Linked DNA regions of Homo sapiens: region 2 is linked to region 1. Evidence: promoter capture Hi-C in human tissues and cell types (Jung and others, 2019). All regions are on one chromosome and are shown on one strand. Each heading gives the region's core, a stretch centred on a gene start or on the middle of the fragment in contact. The rest is flanking DNA. Distances are from core to core; before and after follow the strand shown. Region 1 holds the start of KRT84 (keratin 84). Region 2 holds the start of KRT7 (keratin 7).

Region 1 (4,415 bases), core at 1,419-3,918:
AAAACAGCAAGGGGGTAAGCATTCGAGGCAGGAGTCATTCTGCCTGTTTGATGGACAGCCAGGATGCTCAAGTGGCTGCAACAGAGTGGGCAGCGGGACAGGTGGAGGGGATGAGGTCAGGGAAGAGGGAGGCACACTGCATAGTGTCTTACAGGGCATTGACTCTGAATGGGTGGGAAACCATGGGAGGAGTTTCGGCATGGAAATGGCATGATCTGACATGTTTTTAAAGGATCACTCTGTGCTGCTAAGAAAAGCCTGAAGGGGCAAGGGAGGAAGCTGGGAGACCAGCTGGGAGTGTAGTTCAGAAGATCCTGTGGGAAGAGATGGGCCTGGGCCAGCATGGGAGCAGCAGGATGGTGAGAAGGAGTAGGAGTCTGGATATATTTTGAAGGGAGAATTTGCCAATGAATTGAATGTGGGAAAAGGGAAATAAAAAACAGAGGACAAAAGGATGACTCCAAGATTTCTGGCATGAACTATTGCAGAGATAGTGATGTTGGCAAGTGGAACATATTTAGCAGGAACAATTAGGAGAACAGTTTTGGTCATAAAGTCATCCCTCTGTATCTGTGGCTCCCACCTTTGTGGATTCAACCAACTGCAGATTGAAACTCTTAAAAAAATTGCATCTGTGCTGAACAAGTACGGACTTTTTTCTTGTCAATAAAGTATAACAACTATTTACATAGCATTTACATTGTATTAGGTATTATAATCCAGTGATGATTTCAAGTATACAGAAGGATGTGTGTGGGTTACATGCAAATACTACACCATTGTATATCGGAGGCTCGACGAACATCCATGGATTTTGGTATCCACAAGGGGTCCTGGAACCAACTACCTGGGGATACCAAGGGACAACTGTATTAAGTTTGAGATGCCTATCTGATATCCAAATAGAGATGTTGGTTAAAATATATGTGTGGCGTTTAGGGGTAGGGAGGTCTGGGATAGAGTTGTGCCTTGGCAGTCATGAATGAACAGATGGTATTTAAAGTCCTGAGTCTGTATAATATCACCAAGGCAATGAGTCTAAAGAAGAGAATAGATACCCAAGGATTGAGCCAGGGACTCTGCAGTGTCTAGAGGTTGGGGATATGAGGAGGAACTGGCTTAGAAGACTGAAAAGAGTGTGGCAAGAAATCGAGAGAGTGTAGTGTCCGAAAATCAAAAGAAGAGCGTGTTTCAAGAGAAAGGGCATGGTCAGCTATGTGAAGAAAGTGAGAACTGAGGACAGACCATTGAATTTAACATGGAGGCCACTGGTGGTCTTGACGAGAAGTATGCACTTCTTATTGTTTTTCTGCTTCATTTCCCCCTTAGACATACAGCTGATAGCTGGAAAAAGAAAATACCGCACAAATGAGCTGGATGCTTCTGGTCAAAAGCATACATCCCCTTCCAAGTGGAATTGCAAGCATCCCAAAGAATCTCAAGCGTCCAGTCAAACATGAGTTCCCCTGGGCAAAGGATGCACTAGAATAGAAAAGGTAAACACCAGCCTGGCTCAGGGTCCTAAAAGAGCTGCAATATTGCTAACAATGATAATATTCAGCTGCTGAGAACTTTTCCTTTTCTATCCAGATGTATATTGCTTTGTGTCTCTCTATCCTAACCAAAGATTCATCAATAATTCAAGGAACCTAAATGGACAGGCCCATAAATCACACCTATGGTATATTTGGGGGCTAAAAATCATGTAGTTAGCTTTCTATACAGAAACTTTCCAATGCTTTGGCCTCAAATCATGCCACAAAGTGTTGACTGCTGGAAATCCTCAAGATAAATGTTCTGCTGGGCATGGTGGTGGATGCCTGTAGTCCCAGCTATCTGGGAGGCGGAGGCGGGAGGATCACTTGAGCCCAGGAGTTCAAGACCAGCCTGGGCAACTAGATCATGTCTCTAAAAAAAAAAAAAAAATTTAAGATAAATCTTCCCCTACTACCATGAAGATAGAGACTGTCTTTGTAATCTCTGTACCCTCAGCAGCAAGCACACTGCTGGATACATAGCAGGCACTCTAAAACTGTAGAATGAATGAATATCTCTGAGTGTCTCAAATCACAGATGTGTCTACACTAGCCCAAATGAGCTTTACTGTAGATTCAACTCTTGTATACTAAACAGCCATATTGGATAAAACATGGCAGAAGGTTTTTTGATGATTTAATTGATTTGCAGAAATGCAACAAACTGTATTTTCTCCATATCACTTCTTACTTGGAGATGTGCACACACTCCCACCTCTTTAGGGGGTTATATCTTCATGGATGCATCCCATGTGAGCCTCTTGCTGGAGCTGTCGCCATCCTAACTTTCTGGTGGTTAGCCACACTCACAGTGAAAAAACCTATTGCATTTATGACCAAAGCAAATTAATGTCCCCTTAATGGCAATTGTGGTAGACTTATAGGGAAAAAAAAGACTATAATGTTTATATGTTTATGTGTTTTTAATGTTTATTGGTTTGCTGTTACAGCCCTCATCCCAATGAGACTAGGTGTGTCTGAGTTAACTCATTGTCAAGGAGGTTATAGGCATGCAGAGTTTCTGCTAACTACCCAAGCTCATAAATGCCTGCAAATGGATTTTTTCATTTTTATGGGGCCAAGCCTCAGATCACCACACACATAAAAGGGGTGCAAGGGTTCCACTGGCCTCAGAGGGACTCCCAGCTCCAGCTCACCCATTCTACACTTGCTCTTTTGCTCCCAACCAGGAAGCCATCATGTCTTGCCGCTCCTACCGAGTCAGCTCTGGTCACCGGGTGGGCAACTTCAGCTCTTGTTCAGCAATGACACCACAGAACCTGAATCGCTTCCGGGCCAACTCTGTCTCCTGTTGGAGTGGGCCTGGATTCCGGGGCCTTGGCAGCTTTGGTAGTCGGAGTGTCATCACCTTTGGATCGTACTCACCCCGGATAGCAGCTGTAGGCTCTCGGCCCATCCACTGTGGAGTCCGCTTTGGTGCTGGCTGTGGGATGGGTTTTGGTGATGGGAGAGGTGTTGGTCTGGGGCCTAGGGCTGACAGCTGTGTTGGTCTGGGCTTTGGAGCTGGCAGTGGCATTGGCTATGGCTTTGGTGGCCCTGGCTTTGGTTACAGAGTTGGAGGGGTTGGAGTCCCAGCAGCCCCATCTATCACAGCTGTGACTGTGAACAAGAGCCTACTGACCCCCCTCAACCTGGAGATTGACCCCAATGCCCAGAGGGTGAAGAAGGATGAGAAGGAGCAAATCAAGACCCTCAACAACAAGTTTGCCTCCTTCATTGACAAGGTACCTATGATAGCTGAATCTCTGGGTCTAGGAATATTACAGCCAAAATGCGCTAGAGTGCTCTTTCCCTTAAAAAGAACTGGCCCGGTTCTGGGGACTTGACCTTGACCTCAGATCTTTCAAGTGCCTACCTCAGGCATTGTGGTATGCTTTATGGGTTGCTCTGCTGCAGAGCAAGGCCAAGCCAGAGGACGAGCTGCATGGTGGGATAGATTCCGACAGTGTTGATATCTTCTGGAGGACAGAGGAGCATCCAGCCAAACTCGAGGGCATCTCGACAAACTAAGATGTTGCATCTGGTCACTTAGAAATGTCTCTGAAACAGGCTGGAAACACTGGGACTTTAGCCAGGTGTTGGCTGGTATATGCTTAAGAGGTTTTATTCTTTGAGATCCTTTTGTTCCTTATGAAGTTTTCATAGTTTCTGAGGCTGAGTGGCCTCATCTATTCAGGCTTAGAAAAGTAGAGAATGGAGTTGAGTAATTAAAAAAAGAAGAAGAATTCATACCCCCACATGGGGTATCAAAATTCGGCCAAGTTGCCTAGATTCAGGGAAATTGCAGGGAATGACCACTGGTAGTCACTGGCTTCCAGGCAGATGAGTGGGAACAGTGATGTGGATAACCCAAAAGAACTGACATCCCACACACCATGTCTATGTGGAGATGGAATGGTTATGTCTGAGAATGAAGGATAACCTCTGTAAGTTTTGGGTTCTTCCTCTCTAAAATGAGGGGCTGGGGTAAAGGGTCTGTAAGTTCTCTTCCAGCTCTACACATAGCCAATGGAATATCTGCGATGTTGGATAGGACTTACAATCTGAGAATTCCTACCTCCCAGTACCATATCCCACCCCAAATGTAGTTTACTCTGCTCCCCATTCTCTGCCAGGGATGCCTGGCATCAGTTTTCAGATATAGGCAAACCAGAGCTTAAATAGAATCAACCCTTCCAACTTCCTGATGTACCAGTGTACAGCTTTCTTAGAGACTGGATAGGGGAATGGTACTGAAGTGCTATGGTTCAAAACCCCATATTGGTAACTAGGCCTAGCCGAGCACAAGGAGGGAGTCACAACCTGCCCTTCCAGCTTCTGCTGAGTTAGTGGAGGAATGAAAGTCAGCAGAGGAGAGAA
Region 2 (4,415 bases), core at 893-3,392, 150 kb after region 1:
TGGCACAGGGGGCATTACTTATTCTTGAAGTCCTCCACCACATCCTGCATGCTCCGCAGCTCCGCCTCCAGGCGGCCCCCATCCACCTGCAGTGCCTCAAGCTGACCCCGAAGGCCAGCAATCTGGGCCTCAAAGATGTCTGGGAGGCGGCTGCTCTTGGCCGACTTCTGCTCCTGCAGCAGCGTCCACTTGGTCTCCAGCAGCTTGTTCTGCTGCTCCAGAAACCGCACCTAGAACGGGCGAGAAGGAGGAAACTCAAGAGGAGCCAGAGCGTGCCACCCACAGCGGGATTGAGGAACATCATCTTTAGCCACTTAGCAGAGCCATGCTCCCCCTGGCTGTTTCCCTGCCTGGGGCTTCCAGCCCTCTCCCTTTGGACTCCAAATCAAGTGTCCTACAGAGTGATCCAGGAAGCAGGTCTGCCTGGTGCACGGAAGTGCCCCGTGGTTGACTCTCGACGAATGTGCTCCAGGGCCTCCTCTCCACTTCACTCCCCATCACATTACAGGTGGTGTTCTCCACCTCCCTATCTGAACAGCCACCTCTTCCTGTCAATGGATCATGAGGATGACCAGGCCCAGCCCTCCCTTCTGTCTGGGACCTCTTCTCTTCCTTCCTCAATATCCTTTCTCTCCTTCCCCTTTCTCCAGCAAGGCCTCAGGACAGTCAATCCATGGTAAAATGACCCCAGCCTGGAGCCCACAAAGGCCCTTAAGGAGTAGCCGGTATGACTGGAGGTGGGAGGCAATAGAGGCCTCTGCAAAACCAGCAGCTCAGGGCCCCAGGCCCTGGGGACCACAGAGAGTAAGACGGTGCAGCTCAACACATGGGGGAACCTGGGCCTGGAGCAGCTTGGGGAGGCCCCTATGAAATCTAAAAGACCGGTCTGGGTGAATGGCGAAGGAAAGGAGAACGTGAGGGAGGCGGGTGTGGGAGTACACTTCGTCTAAGCTGAGGAAGGGGGCCCTGGCCAGAACAGCCCAGCAGGGCCAGCCCTGAGTTCCTGGCTTTGGCAGCACTCCTCCCAAACCCACCAGTCAAGTCTGCCCTCGCCCCCTCCAGCGGCCCCATGTGTGGCGGAGGCCAACAGCCAGGAAAAATATCTCCAAAATGGACCCCTTTTTGAGGGCCCTCTCTGCCACTCCCTGCCCCCAACTGGGCTGTCTTCAAGGGCAGGTATAACCTCTCCTCCTGCCACCTAAGGGAGGCTGGAGGACCAGGCAGGTGGGGGAGGGGAGGGGCGGGAGCCCCCCCCCCTCCCCCGCCCCACCGACTGCCGCTCTAATCTCCAGCATCTGCATCCGCATCAGCATCTGAGAGAGCCTGGGTCTCCCCCTCTGGGAAGGGCGTGCCATCCAACTCCATTCCTGACTCCACACGGTCCTCTCTCAGGGAAAGGGTCCCAGAGAGAGAACTCCTGGCCTAGGCCTCTGGAACTCCTAGTCCGAGGCAAAACTGGTCCAGGTGACCAACAGGCAGCCAGCGAGGGCAGCCCTACAGGACTCAGGCCCGCACTCCGGGAGGAAAGGGAGGGGCAGCTGGGCAGCTTGCTGGAAGGGAGGGCTTGGAAACCGAGGGGATAAAATAGCCACGGGGTTCATGCGAAGGAGGAAGGACCCCCAGATCGTGTCCCCAACACTGGCGGAAAGACAGAAGGGCGGCAGTGCTCCCCAGCGCCTGGCCCGCGCGCAGGCAGGGCTAGTTAGGGCGGCTGGTGTGGTCTGGAGCGCGGCTCGAGGAGAGGCGAGGTCCAGTCCCGCTCACCTTGTCGATGAAGGAGGCAAACTTGTTGTTGAGGGTCTTGATCTGCTCGCTCTCCTCCTGGCGCACCCGCTGGAGGGAGGGGTCGGCGTCCAGCCGCAGCGGGGCCAGCAGGCTCTGGTTAATGGTGACCTCGCGGATGCCGGCGCCCACCGGGCCCCCATAGGCAGAGCGCACGGCCACGCGCGGCCGTGAGGCGCCGAGGCCGTAGAGGCTGCTGCTGCCAAGGCCGCCGGGGCGAGCGGAGCTCAGGCGCACCTGGGCGCCGCGGCCCGAGAAGGCGGCTGAGCGCGAGGTGAATACCGGGGAGCTGAAGTGGATGGACATGGTGGCTGGGCCGGGATGGACCTAGCGGCGGGCGAGGAGGAGCGCGCACTCGCTGACCTCGGGGACACTCCGCGCCTTTTATCCGCGGGAGCGGGCGGCTGGGCTTCCACAGGTAGGGGCGGGGCTGCCGCGGGCCACCTTTCTCTGCTGCCAGGCCCCTCCTGGGGCCGCCCTCCGCCCTCTGCCCGCCCGCCCCGCCGAAGCCCAGGCTTTCAGTCCAAGCAGGGATGGTCCGGAGTAGGCAGGAGCGCCATCCCTAGACGGCCGCAGAGAACAGCGGGGGACCGCAGTTCCAGCCCATTGGAAACGGACTCAGTGAGGGAAGGCTTCCCGGAGGAGGATGCTTGGAGAGGGAGTGAAGAACCTAGAGATCCCTGAGGCCCAAGCAGAGAGACCCAGTGGCAAGAGACTGGGGGAAGGGGTGGGCTGAAAAGTTCCAACCCAGGAGTCAACGCCCAGACGTCCCCATCCTCCAGGCTGCTGAAGCCAGAAAGGCATTCCTTACCGCTCTCCCTCACACCGATCCAGCTCCTCCTTGAGAGATCAGCTCACTTGTTCAGGGGTCTGACCCCTCCTGGCCCAGCTAGTTTCCCTGGCTGCGTTCCTTCCTACTTCATTTCCCATAGAAACTAGGCTGAGAGAGACACACGACCGACCGCACCTCTGGCTCCTCCCCTCCCCACTCCAGTAGGCATCGGAATCCCAGGGACCTTGGGAATGCTTACCCTGGACCCTCACCTCCCGGACCCTCCACTCATATTCCTGCCCATTTATTTTATGCGTCCCTGTACAGGAAGGGGACACTTGTGTGTATTTGTGACACTTTGTGGATGTGTGGACACTTTGTGGATGTGTGCACACGCCTGCAGGCCTCTGGGCTCTGCTGTGCTCACACCCCCAGGCATATGCACCCGCATGTCTGAGCCTGCTTACACAGATGGGGGTCTGTGCGTGCATCCTGGGCGAGGGGGCAGCTGTGGCTACACAATGGCACACATTTTCATGCCTGCCTGAGTGCGTGTGCTTCTGTTAGCACTCAACTCTCCTCCCGCTCCCTCCACCATTTTCCTGTTTAAAGGCCCTCAGCTTTCATCATCTTTCTCCCGTGAAGCCACCACCAAACAATTCCCAGCAGTTTCAAACCCAGTCAAGAGGGGTAATCCTAGTGCTGGAACCGAATACCGGACAAAGCCTGAGTGTTGGCCTCACTTCCCGGTAGGGCCAGCCATGCTTGCCACACCCTGTTCTCAGGCCTGGCTTCCGTCTGCCCTTAGCCCACCTCTAGCCCCTCCCAATAAGCTGGCCAGGTTCGTTACCTCAGACCTAAGCCCTTGGGGGAGACAAGGGTGGGGACGGAATGTCCTTCCTGCTTGGCCATTTCAGTTAAAGCACAAGGACTTCCAGTGAGGCTAAAGACTGTCACTCCTTCTCAGTGATCTTAGTGAAGGCTCACCAGCCTCCCTCCCTGCCTCCCCTCCTGACCCTAGCCATTGGTGTTGGGTCAGCTCAGGCCAGAGGCGGAGGGGTGCCCAAGGAGACCTGCTGTGGTATCGGCTGTGGAGCATGTATGTGTGCATAAGACCGAGAGAGATTCGACCTGGAATTGTGCCTGGTTGTAGCTTGAAGAGCATACGGATTACCTGGTCCTGTGATATTTGCATTCATAGGAATCTCACTGCCCTCCTTCCCCAACGCCCAAGCAGGCAAAAAAGACCAATTGTTTAATTTACACACACACACACTCCAACTTCCTCACCCCTCAGGGCTCATCTTCAACTCTGTTTTTACCACTGCCTCTCACACCAACGCCTGCTCTCCCATACCTCCACTAACAAGTTCTGCCTCTGGCCCTCTCATCCGTCCCCATCTCCAGCCCCCTACAGGATCTGCGCTCTGGAGGCTGTGCCCACCTAGACCAGGAGTTCCTGCATCCACTTCTCCCCTAAAGCCTGGCTGGGAAATCTTTGTCAGGGCACTGCTGTTGCCTTGAGGCCCTGGACATGTCACTGCCCCTCCCTGGGCCATGGATTTTTCACCCAAGATGAAATCTCCAGATTCCATACCTAGAGAGGACTGGGGAGGACAATGGGAAGGAGAAAAGGTCTCTGGGCTTTTCAGGCTCACATCTGGGGTTGTGGGTGGGGGCCACTTTGAGCAACATTTCTGCATTCCAGGGCCTGCCTGACATTCACCCCTTGGCCTCTCCTCCCCTCTCTGAAGCATTCCAGGCCGTTCCAGCCCTGGCCAGTCTCCTCCTGCCTCTCCATTCACAGGCCAGCACTAAGAGCCCACTCTGTGCCAGGTGGCACACGCAAACATCCTCTGGA

Evidence for each region. Contacts are between HindIII fragments. The study calls those that stand out against the background at their distance.
Region 2: the fragment with the promoter of KRT7 here is called in contact with the fragment with the promoter of KRT84 in region 1 in 1 of the 25 tissues and cell types used here (adrenal gland).

What each region holds. Positions count from the first base shown.
Region 1 is chr12:52,383,905-52,388,319 of GRCh38, reverse strand. KRT84 (keratin 84) reads left to right here and starts at 2,668. Exons shown (of 9, transcript NM_033045.4): 1 at 2,668-3,280. The coding sequence starts at 2,735. The HindIII fragment of the contact is 12,479 bases long and covers 1-4,415 here.
Region 2 is chr12:52,230,970-52,235,384 of GRCh38, reverse strand. KRT7 (keratin 7) reads right to left here and starts at 2,142. Exons shown (of 9, transcript NM_005556.4): 1 at 1,765-2,142; 2 at 19-230. The coding sequence starts at 2,088. It also overlaps the pseudogene TMT1AP1. RefSeq lists an enhancer at 581-1,556. The HindIII fragment of the contact is 11,918 bases long and covers 1-4,415 here.